Regions from separate parts of the Homo sapiens genome. Here region 1 is linked to region 2. Evidence: promoter capture Hi-C in 16 types of primary human blood cells and fetal thymus (Javierre and others, 2016). All regions are on one chromosome and are shown on one strand. The core of a region is centred on a gene start or on the middle of the fragment in contact, and the rest is flanking DNA. Distances in the headings are between cores, read along the strand shown.

Evidence for each region. The method cuts DNA at HindIII sites, captures the fragments that hold promoters and counts their contacts. A CHiCAGO score of 5 or more calls a contact.
Region 1: a contact is called between a fragment that was not itself captured here and the fragment with the promoter of NRIR in region 2, in 1 of 17 cell types (erythroblasts). The highest score is 5.0, in erythroblasts.

The regions. Positions count from the first base shown.
Region 1 is chr2:7,093,769-7,098,502 of GRCh38, reverse strand. No RefSeq gene overlaps it. Among named protein-coding and RNA genes, the nearest start is that of GRASLND, 180 kb to the right of the region's middle. RefSeq lists an enhancer at 868-997. The HindIII fragment of the contact is 299 bases long and covers 1,880-2,178 here.
Region 2 is chr2:6,838,025-6,842,259 of GRCh38, reverse strand. NRIR (negative regulator of interferon response) reads left to right here and starts at 1,796. Exons shown (of 4, transcript NR_126359.1): 1 at 1,796-1,969. It also overlaps a transcript of CMPK2 not described here. The HindIII fragment of the contact is 12,024 bases long and covers 1-4,235 here.

The sequences.
Region 1 (4,734 bases), core at 780-3,279, 260 kb before region 2:
TACTAAGCCCAACTTTGTTTTTCAATTAATGGCATCCTTAATGAATTTGTGTTATTATCCATATTTTATGGGTGTGGAGCACATAACTTGAGCAAGAAACTCCACCTGAACCTACAGGTCAGCGAGGTAGAAGTTGCCCAAGGTCTCATAGGCATTAAATGTCAAAGGCAATGAGAACAGAAATCCTAGCTCAAATAGCCCATCCAAGGATTAAATGGTATAAATTACTAAAAACACTTTTCTAGGAGAAATTTCGATACTTGCTTTATTTTTCTCTTATTCTCATCATCCTGGAGGATAGGGCAAAGATAAAAACGTTCCTGGTGAGGCCCTTGAGAATCAGTGTGGCTGAGTGGCACGCCTGGGCTGCATGCAGATGACTGGCAGAACAGGGGCCAGAACCACCTGCTAGGAGGATGTGCCTTTGGGGGCTCCTTCTCTTTCTACTATGAAGAAAGGAGTCTATAAGGAGAAATTGTCTGAGTTAAAGCAAATCTCCTGTCCTTAAGAACAAATGCAGACTCTTGAGTCCTGCATTTAAGGACTCCCAAGATGAAGGCTGAAGCTGATGTGATGGGGGCCTCTTGAATCGGGTGAGTCCATCTGGGATGTAGGAAGAAATAGACCAGAGTGCATGGGATGGGGAGCTAGGGGGTGCTTCTCCACACCCCAGGGCAGCCTGTGGCCCCTCCCACTGGCTGTGATGCCTGCTGGGCCCAGGGCAGGACAAGTGGCTCCAGAGCTCTGGTGGAGGACGGTGGGGCACATAAGGCCAGCTGGGCTGGCTGTAGCCACGTGGTCTTTCTGAAACTGCACACCTGCTTTCTCTGTCTAAGCTGCCCTGTCTAATTCTGGTTAATCTCACGGTGGAGAGAGGGAGGGAGAAAATCACAAGTTGAAGAAGGCTGAGTAGGCATAGGGTGGAAGAGCTCAAGGCAGACACAAAAATCCATCACTCACACGCAAAACAAAAAGACCCAAACCAAAACAAACAACAAACAAAATGGTAACAAAAGACAGCAAAGCACGCGCACCTAGAAACTGGTTAAACGCGGTGCTCGCGCGCCACCTGCTGACCGAATCGTGGCGCTGCATGCTGGCCGTCCCTTCCTGCCCCTTAGCCTCGGCGTCCTGCGCACTTCAGCATCCCCAACCAATCTGGCGGCACTCAGGATCCTCCAAGTCCAATCCAGTTGCCAGAAAGTCTTTCTAAATCATAGAAATTTAAATTTCACTCCCAATTTTAAATCTGCCAGTGGTCTCCATTTCATATAGGGGCCAGTTCAAATTCCTTAAGCATGGCTCACAAGGACATCAAACTGTTAGGTCAGTAGCTGGTCAGGCAGAGCAGGACAGAGAGGGCCCCCACCCCACCATGAGGGGCGGGCGACCATCAGGTGGTGGTCAGGCGGTTGGTTAGCTGTCTCTCTAAAATAATAATTGTTTGCAGCCGGCGCCAGGGAACGGCATCTCCCAATAGATAGAAACACCTGAAGCCCGCAGCTTTCAGATAGATCTCCTCCGGCGTGAGGTGAGTGGGCTCAACACATGCGCACTAAGAGGCAAAATGGCAGAGTGTGAGTGGCATATGACCTCCTAGGGACATTCGGCTGGTAAGGGAAGAACGCCTCAAGGGAGCATGGGTACGACTCCAGTAAACACACTGCGCATGCGCCCCTCCCAAGCGCCAGCAGCCCACCATGCATGCGTGCAGTCCACCCCAAGGGGAGAATCAGGGGAGAAGGGACGCAAGACCCCGGAGGCATGCCAACATATAAAACCCCAAGTCAAAGGGTCAAACCCTGCACTAGTCCTTCAAGTCTCCTGCTTGGCCCTCTTCCAAGTGTACTTTCCTTCTTTTCATTCCTGCTCTAAAGCTTTTTAAGAAACCTCCACTCCTGCTCAGAAACTTGCCTCAGTCTCTCCCTTGCCTAATGCTCCTCAGATGAGTTCTTTCTTCCGAGGAGGCAAGGAATGAGGTTGCTGCAGACTGGTCCGGAGTTGCTGCTGCTAACATACTTTGGTGCCCTGTGACTCAGAGACCTTCCGCTGCTAACAAAACCTGGCCCCAGTCTGTGCCTCCTAAATGGCTTACCCCAGGGTCCTTTTGCTAAACCACCATGCCTCTCTCTAGGGTCGGTTCAAAGCCACCTCCCTCCTTCTCCTTGGAGGAAAGCTTGTCCTCCCCGGCCTTTTCCAGCCCTGTGCCCCATTCTGGGGACTCCATGCCTAGTACCTGGCCCCTTTCCTGCCTCATCATCCTGCTAATCTCTGAGATCCTACAGGGAAGTATCTTATTTATTCCTCAGAACAGGGAACACAGTGCCTGAAACATCAGAAGCTTCCCATCCAATGTCTCAATATTTGCTAAGTAAATGCTGAGGCTTTTACCAGCTAAAAATTCAAAGGTTTTCAATCGTTGGATGTCTTTCACGGGAAAAAGTGATGGTGAAGAGCCAGGATCTGCCGCTCACTTAAAATTCACCACGTGGGCCGGGCACGGTGGCTCACGCCTGTAATCCCGGCACTTTGGGAGGCTGAGATGGGTGGATCACTTGAGGTCAGGCGGTCAAGACATGCCTGGCAAACATGGTGAAACCCTGTCTCTACTAAAAATACAAAAATTAGCTGGGCATGGTGGCACATGCCTGTGATCCCAGCTACTCAGGTGGCTGAGGCGGGAGAATCACTTGGACTCAGGAGGCGGAGGTTGCAGTGAGACAAGATCGTGCCACTGCACTCCAGCCTGGGTGACAGAGCAACACTTTGTCTCAAAAAAAAAAAAATTACCACTTGGACTTAGGAGACGCTTCCTCCTGAGCCCTGTGTATGAGGTGACCAGCTGCCCCCAGATATTCTACTGCCCCGTCTGGGGAATCTACTGACCGGCACAGAAGAGGCACCAAACACCTGCTCATACCCGGGAAGGATAAGGCAGCATGAAGCGAAGTTCTATTTGACAGGCCCTGCCACCCCCAGGACAGCCTTAATAGTGTGTGTCCCTGAGCAATGTTTCCCCCCCAGCCTCCTCTCCCTGCAGCAGGGCCCTGCCCTCCCTCCTCACAGGGTTTCTTTGCTCATTGAGCTTGTCTCCTCTTTGCCCCACCCAAATGCACTCATCTCCATCCATGAAACTAAATGCTTTCACATGGAAAAATTCAGATAGGTCTCAAAGTATAAACTAATCTTCCCAGAGCTATGTTGCCAACCCAGGTGTCTCCCCTGAAGCCTAGAATCTGAGTCAACTGGTCACTTTTCCACTTGGATATTCTGCAGCACCTTGAACTCCCTGGGGCAAACCTACACTTGCCAGTTTCCTGCTCCCTTAAAATACGCTCCATCTTCTGAGTCCTGCACACCAAGTGGAGGCCCCACCATCGTCCAGGTGCCCAGGACAGAAATGTGGGATTCATCATCAGTTAGTCACTATGTCCCACTGATTCTGCCTTCTAAGTGTATCCTGAAAGAACACACTTCCTTCCGTCACACAACCCCCTACTCAGGCCACTGGTATCTGCTCTGGATTATTGCTCAGCATCTATGTTAGTGTCACCGGCAGCGAATCCGTATCTTACGGGTCTGCAGCAACCTCAATTCTTGCCTCCTCAGAAGAAAGAATTCAACTGAGGGGCATAAGGCAGAAGGAGAGAACAAGGCAAGTTTTAGAGCAGGAGTGAAAGTTGATTAAAAAGCTTTAGAGCAGGAACACAAGGAAGGAAAGTACACTTGGAAGAGGCCCAAGCAGGTAACTTGAAGGACAAGTGCAGGGTTTGACCTTTTGACTTGGGCTTGTATATGTTGGCATGCTTCCGGGGTCTTGTGTCCCTTCTCCCGATTCATCCCTTGGGGCGGGCTGTCTGCACGCACAGTGGCCTGCCAGCAGTTGGGAGTGGAGCGTGTGCTATGTGTTTCCTGGAGCTGTATGCATGCTTATTTGAGGCATTCTTTCCTTACCAGACTAGCATTCCTACAGGAAGGTCATACAACAGTTAAACTCCATCACTTTGCCTCTTAATGCACATGCTTGAGCTCACTCGCCCACTTCCTGAGATCTTATTGGGAAGCTGCTGATCACCAGTTTTAGGTGTTTTCTTTTTATTTGGAGACGGCCTTTCCCTGGTGCCAGCTGTGACCAATTATTACTTTAGCGAGACACTTTACAACCGCCTGACCGTCACCTGACCGTCACCAGACACTCCTGGTGTGTGGGTGGGGAGCCCTCCCCTGCCCTGCTCATGCCTGACTAGCTACCTACTGTAACATTAGGACACGGCAGATGCAGTGATCAGAACCCTCAAGCCGCTGAGGTGAGCTTGTTGGACCCCCGTTCCAGAGACAGTGAGAGTTCCAAGCTCTCCCCCACATTTCCCTCCTGCAAATTTCTCTCAGCTGTGGTGGTCCTTCTTTTTCAGATTCACCTTGCGTTTCCCTCCATGCCACTCCAGGCCCTTCACCAGGCTGTGCTGCTGAGCATGTATGCACACACACACACACACGCACACACATACACGGACACACACGCAGGCACACACATGCACACATACACGTAACAACTAGGAAATGGGCACATCGAGGAACACGTCCCCACCGTCGCCTCCTCTCTCCCCTGCTTTCCTGTTTCTGGCTCAGGCCAGTGATTCCTCTCTAGGCCTCCTGGGGTGGGGGTGAAGGAACCAGTCTCAGTACCCAGTTTAAGTGCGCTCAACAAAGAAAAATTATTCCGAAAATCTAATA
Region 2 (4,235 bases), core at 547-3,046:
GCCACTTTCCTTCCAGATGAAATTGGAGAACCTGAACATGATTGTGAAAAAATAGTGATGCAAACCTATGCAGCCAGAGAGGACATCCAGGAAACTCCTCTAGAAAACTGAGACTGGGCTGTCTTTACAAGTAAAGTTCTATTATAGAACAAGGAACCTGTAGGGCAGGGTATGCAATAGTCACCCTGGATGACATCATTAAAAGCACACCTCTTTCACCAGGTACAGTGCTCAATTAGCTGAGTTAATTGCTGTCATGAGGGTGCTTGAACTAAGCAAAGCTAAGGCAGTTAACATATATATGGATTCTAAGTATGCTTTCCTGGTTCTTCATGCTCATGCCGCTATTTGGAAAGAAAGACACTCCCTGACTGCTAATGGCTCTTTTATTAAATACCATTAGGAAATAGATTGTTGTCCTCAGTTTTCCTTCTGCAGGAAGTGGCAATGATACATTGCAAAGGACACCAGAAGGGGATGGATGAAATAGCTGAAGGAAATAGGCTAGCAGACCAAACAGCTAAGTCAGCAGTAAGAAGACCCCAAAGTCCCAGCACACTTGAAGGCTGTCTAATTTGGGAGGGCTCCATAAGGGAAATAAAGCCTCAGTATTCTCCTGCAGAGATAGAATGGGCCACCTCTCGAGGATACACTTTTCAGCCCTCAGGATGGTTACAATCAGAGGATGGCAAATGTTATTTGTCAGTCTCCAGTCAGTGGAAAGTTCTTAAGATCCTTCACCAAACTTTTCACTTGGGAAAGAATAAAACTCATCAAATAGCCCAGAGGTTGTTCTCAGGTAAATATCTACCAAAAACAGTCAAACAAATTGTTAATGCTTATAAGATCTGCCTCAAAAACAATCCCCTCAACAAATGGCATCTCCCCATCCCCAGCAACACAAAGAATGGGAAACTGCCCAGGGGAGGACTGGCAAATGGATTTTACCCATTTTCCAAAGATAAGGGGAATTCAGCACCTCTTGTTGTGGGTGGATGCCTTCACTAGCTGGGTAGAGGCATTTCTATGTCAAACAGAAAGTCCTCTAAGGTGATAAAAGCATTAGTCAATGAAATAATTCCTCGTTTTGGACTCCCTAAATACCTCCAAAGTGACAATGGCCCCTCATTTAAGGCAGCTGTTACCCAAGGGGTCTCAAAAGCACTGAGCATACAATACCATCTTCATTGTGCTTGAAGACTGCAGTCTTCAGGGAAGGTGGAGAAAACAAATGATATCATTAAGAGACACCTCAGGAAGTGGTCTCAAGAAACTCACCTCCTCTAAACTGCTTATCTTCCTATAGCCTTAGTGCAGGTGAGGAGCACCCCTTCAAATTTGGGGTTGAAGGGGTGTTCCTTCACCCTTTTGAAATGGTATATGGACGGCCTTTCCTTACCAATGATTTTATATTACATCAGAGAACTTCTGAATTGGTTAAACATGTAACCTCCCTGGCCCAGTTCTAGCAGGAATTAAAACAGTTATCAGAATTCCAACCCCAAGAACTAGGGCCACCTCTGTTCTACCAAGGAGACTTGGTACTGGTGAAGGATTTTTCCTCTCTTTTCCCCTCTCTAGGTCCCAGCTGGGAGGAACCTTATACCATCCTTCTCTCCACCTGCTCGGCAGTGAAGTTTGTGGGACTGGAATCTTGGATTCATCACACTCGAGTCAAGGCCTGGAATGACCCCTGACATCCCAGAAGAACATCTCAGATATCAGTGTGAAAAGTCTGGGGATTTCAAACTGAAAATCCAAAAGATAAGTAAATGAGTGGGAACTCTCTGTTCAGTTCAATCCCACCCTTCCTTACCAGATACTAAAGTCATTTCTACCTTTCCTCTTGAGATTTGCTGTTAGATATTAGAACTTCTCTTTGTCACATACTTACAGGGAGATTTTGATTATCCATGGGATTCCATTCATAACCTCATAAACCACCCCCACGAAGAAATTATATATCTCGGTGAGTAAGATTTAAAGTGGAACTTTATTACTTCACACATATGGGAATTGTTGTACTCACCTTGCTCTTTGCAGTAGGACTGCATACTGTGGCACCTTCTAAGTGGAATATTGGGAAAAGAGTCTCAATTGCCATAATCTTTTGCTTAGTTATTATTCATATAGCAGGGATAGTAGTCACAGGCAAGAGATAAACATGAAGATTTTGTTACTATCAAGTTTACTAGCATTCACTGTTAGATGTAGCAATGCCTCACATTCTTTGGCTCCTACAATATCAGATATTACCGATCTCTACAACAAGACTGATTACTGGGTTTGCCCTGAACAATTTACTCAGTTTAATAACACCAATGGACTCTTTGATGATTCAGAACTCACTATCTTAGGGTTTCCCTCTGATGGCTTTACCTTAAATCATTAAGGACCTAATAGGTATAAAGGGAACATGGTATGGGAGCATTTTTAACTCCACCCAGAAAGACACACCTCCTGATGGTAAAACTCACACCCTTAGACTAGGTGAAGTTGATAGAATGATAGCCAATGCCTGTCTCTGCTTTAAGAGTAAAGGAAAAGGACCATACTCGGGAAACCTTAAATAATTGCAACAGTATGCTTGTAATTGCTGAGAGCACAGAGATCTGGAGACTAAGAAGGAACAAGGGTGACACCAAACATTGGGAGAGACTGTGGAAAAATTTTAACAATCTAGCCAGACCTCCCAGGTGGAGTTCCCAATGGGAATGTCTACCCCGGGCAGAAATGCCACCCCTCGCCAACCTTATTATCAGGTAATAAATAGCACATGGTCCTTCCCAAACATGCCCACACATGGAATCCTGGACCCTTGTATGATATTTGATAATGACAGTGATCTGCAGATTTGTGAATGAACAGGGGATGTCTGGGCCAATAGCCGCTGTAAGGAGGGTTGTCTAAGATACTGGCTGGAACATATTGCGTCTCTGATCTTTCAAAACTATATTTGCCAAACAGATTCTTCCCTCCCAGCATGTAAAGTTCCAAACAATACTGTGGATGACTATACTAAGTATGGATATCCTTATTCTAAAGATGCTTGAATTAGATGTAGGGAAGGCAACCTTATAAGGCCTGGACTAAACTTAGCTGGAACCCTCATAAATCACAACATAGAACCATCCCTTCAGGGAACAGGGCTTTACTTTCTCTGTGGCTCCAGGCTATGCTTATTCCTCCCCAGGCGCTGGAGAGGAACATGCACTATAGTGGCAATGGTCCCCAATTTGTTATTTTTAAACCCCACTGACAGGGTAGCATTGTTGGGTGACATCGCCAATTTGGGCTCTTTTACAGAAAGTGCATTCCATCACACATACCAAAACAGGAGATCACTTATCTCTATGCCATCATATGGAGATTAAAATGAAAGAGAGAGAACTGGCAAGAATATGCACATGGCAATCCTATATTAGAAAAACGGAATAAAATATGCAATAGCCAGAGGCCTATTTTGGCTTGGCGGTGTTCCCCTTCTTGAAAGATCAGTGCTTAATATTTCTATCATGATGTAACAAGGGTGAAAGGTAACTGTAGGAGCCATAAAAGCCCAAGAGCAGTCCATAAATTCTCTGGCCTCAGTGGCCATGCAAAATAGACAAACTCTTGATGTCCTTATGGCTGAAGTAAGGGGCGCTTGTGCATTTGTAAATGAAACATGCTGTTTCTGGATCAACACCTCCAGTTAGGTAGAGGAGAATTTATGAGTGCTTAAAGACTCAATTAGAATCATTGACAAATTAGGTGAAAATGCAAACTCAGTTGGCTACAATCCCTTTTTAATGGATTCTAGTCTTTGTTTTGGACCTGGTTAGCTCTCTACTAGGACCTCTTTTTCCCGTGTGCCTTGTGATAATGTTTGGACCTTGCATACTCAATGCTATAACCAGAGAGATGGAGAAAAAGATGAATGGTACTCCCATGTGGAGTGCCACCACAGCCCTGGGCCCTGCCTCCTTGTACATGTGATGAGCACATTTCTACCTGGTTTAAGCCATTCTTGATTTGGGTTTCTGATCCACACAGAGTTGAATGTATATTCTTTTACTTTTTGCACCAAGAACCTAGGACACCTTCACTAACATATGGGACTAAAATGTTGTTGTTGTTGTTGTTGTTTGAGACAGAGTTTCACTGTCACCCAGGCTGGAGTGCAGTAGCCTGATCTCGGCTCACTGCAACCTCTACCTCCCAGGCTCAAGCAATTCTCGTGCCTCAGCCTCCCA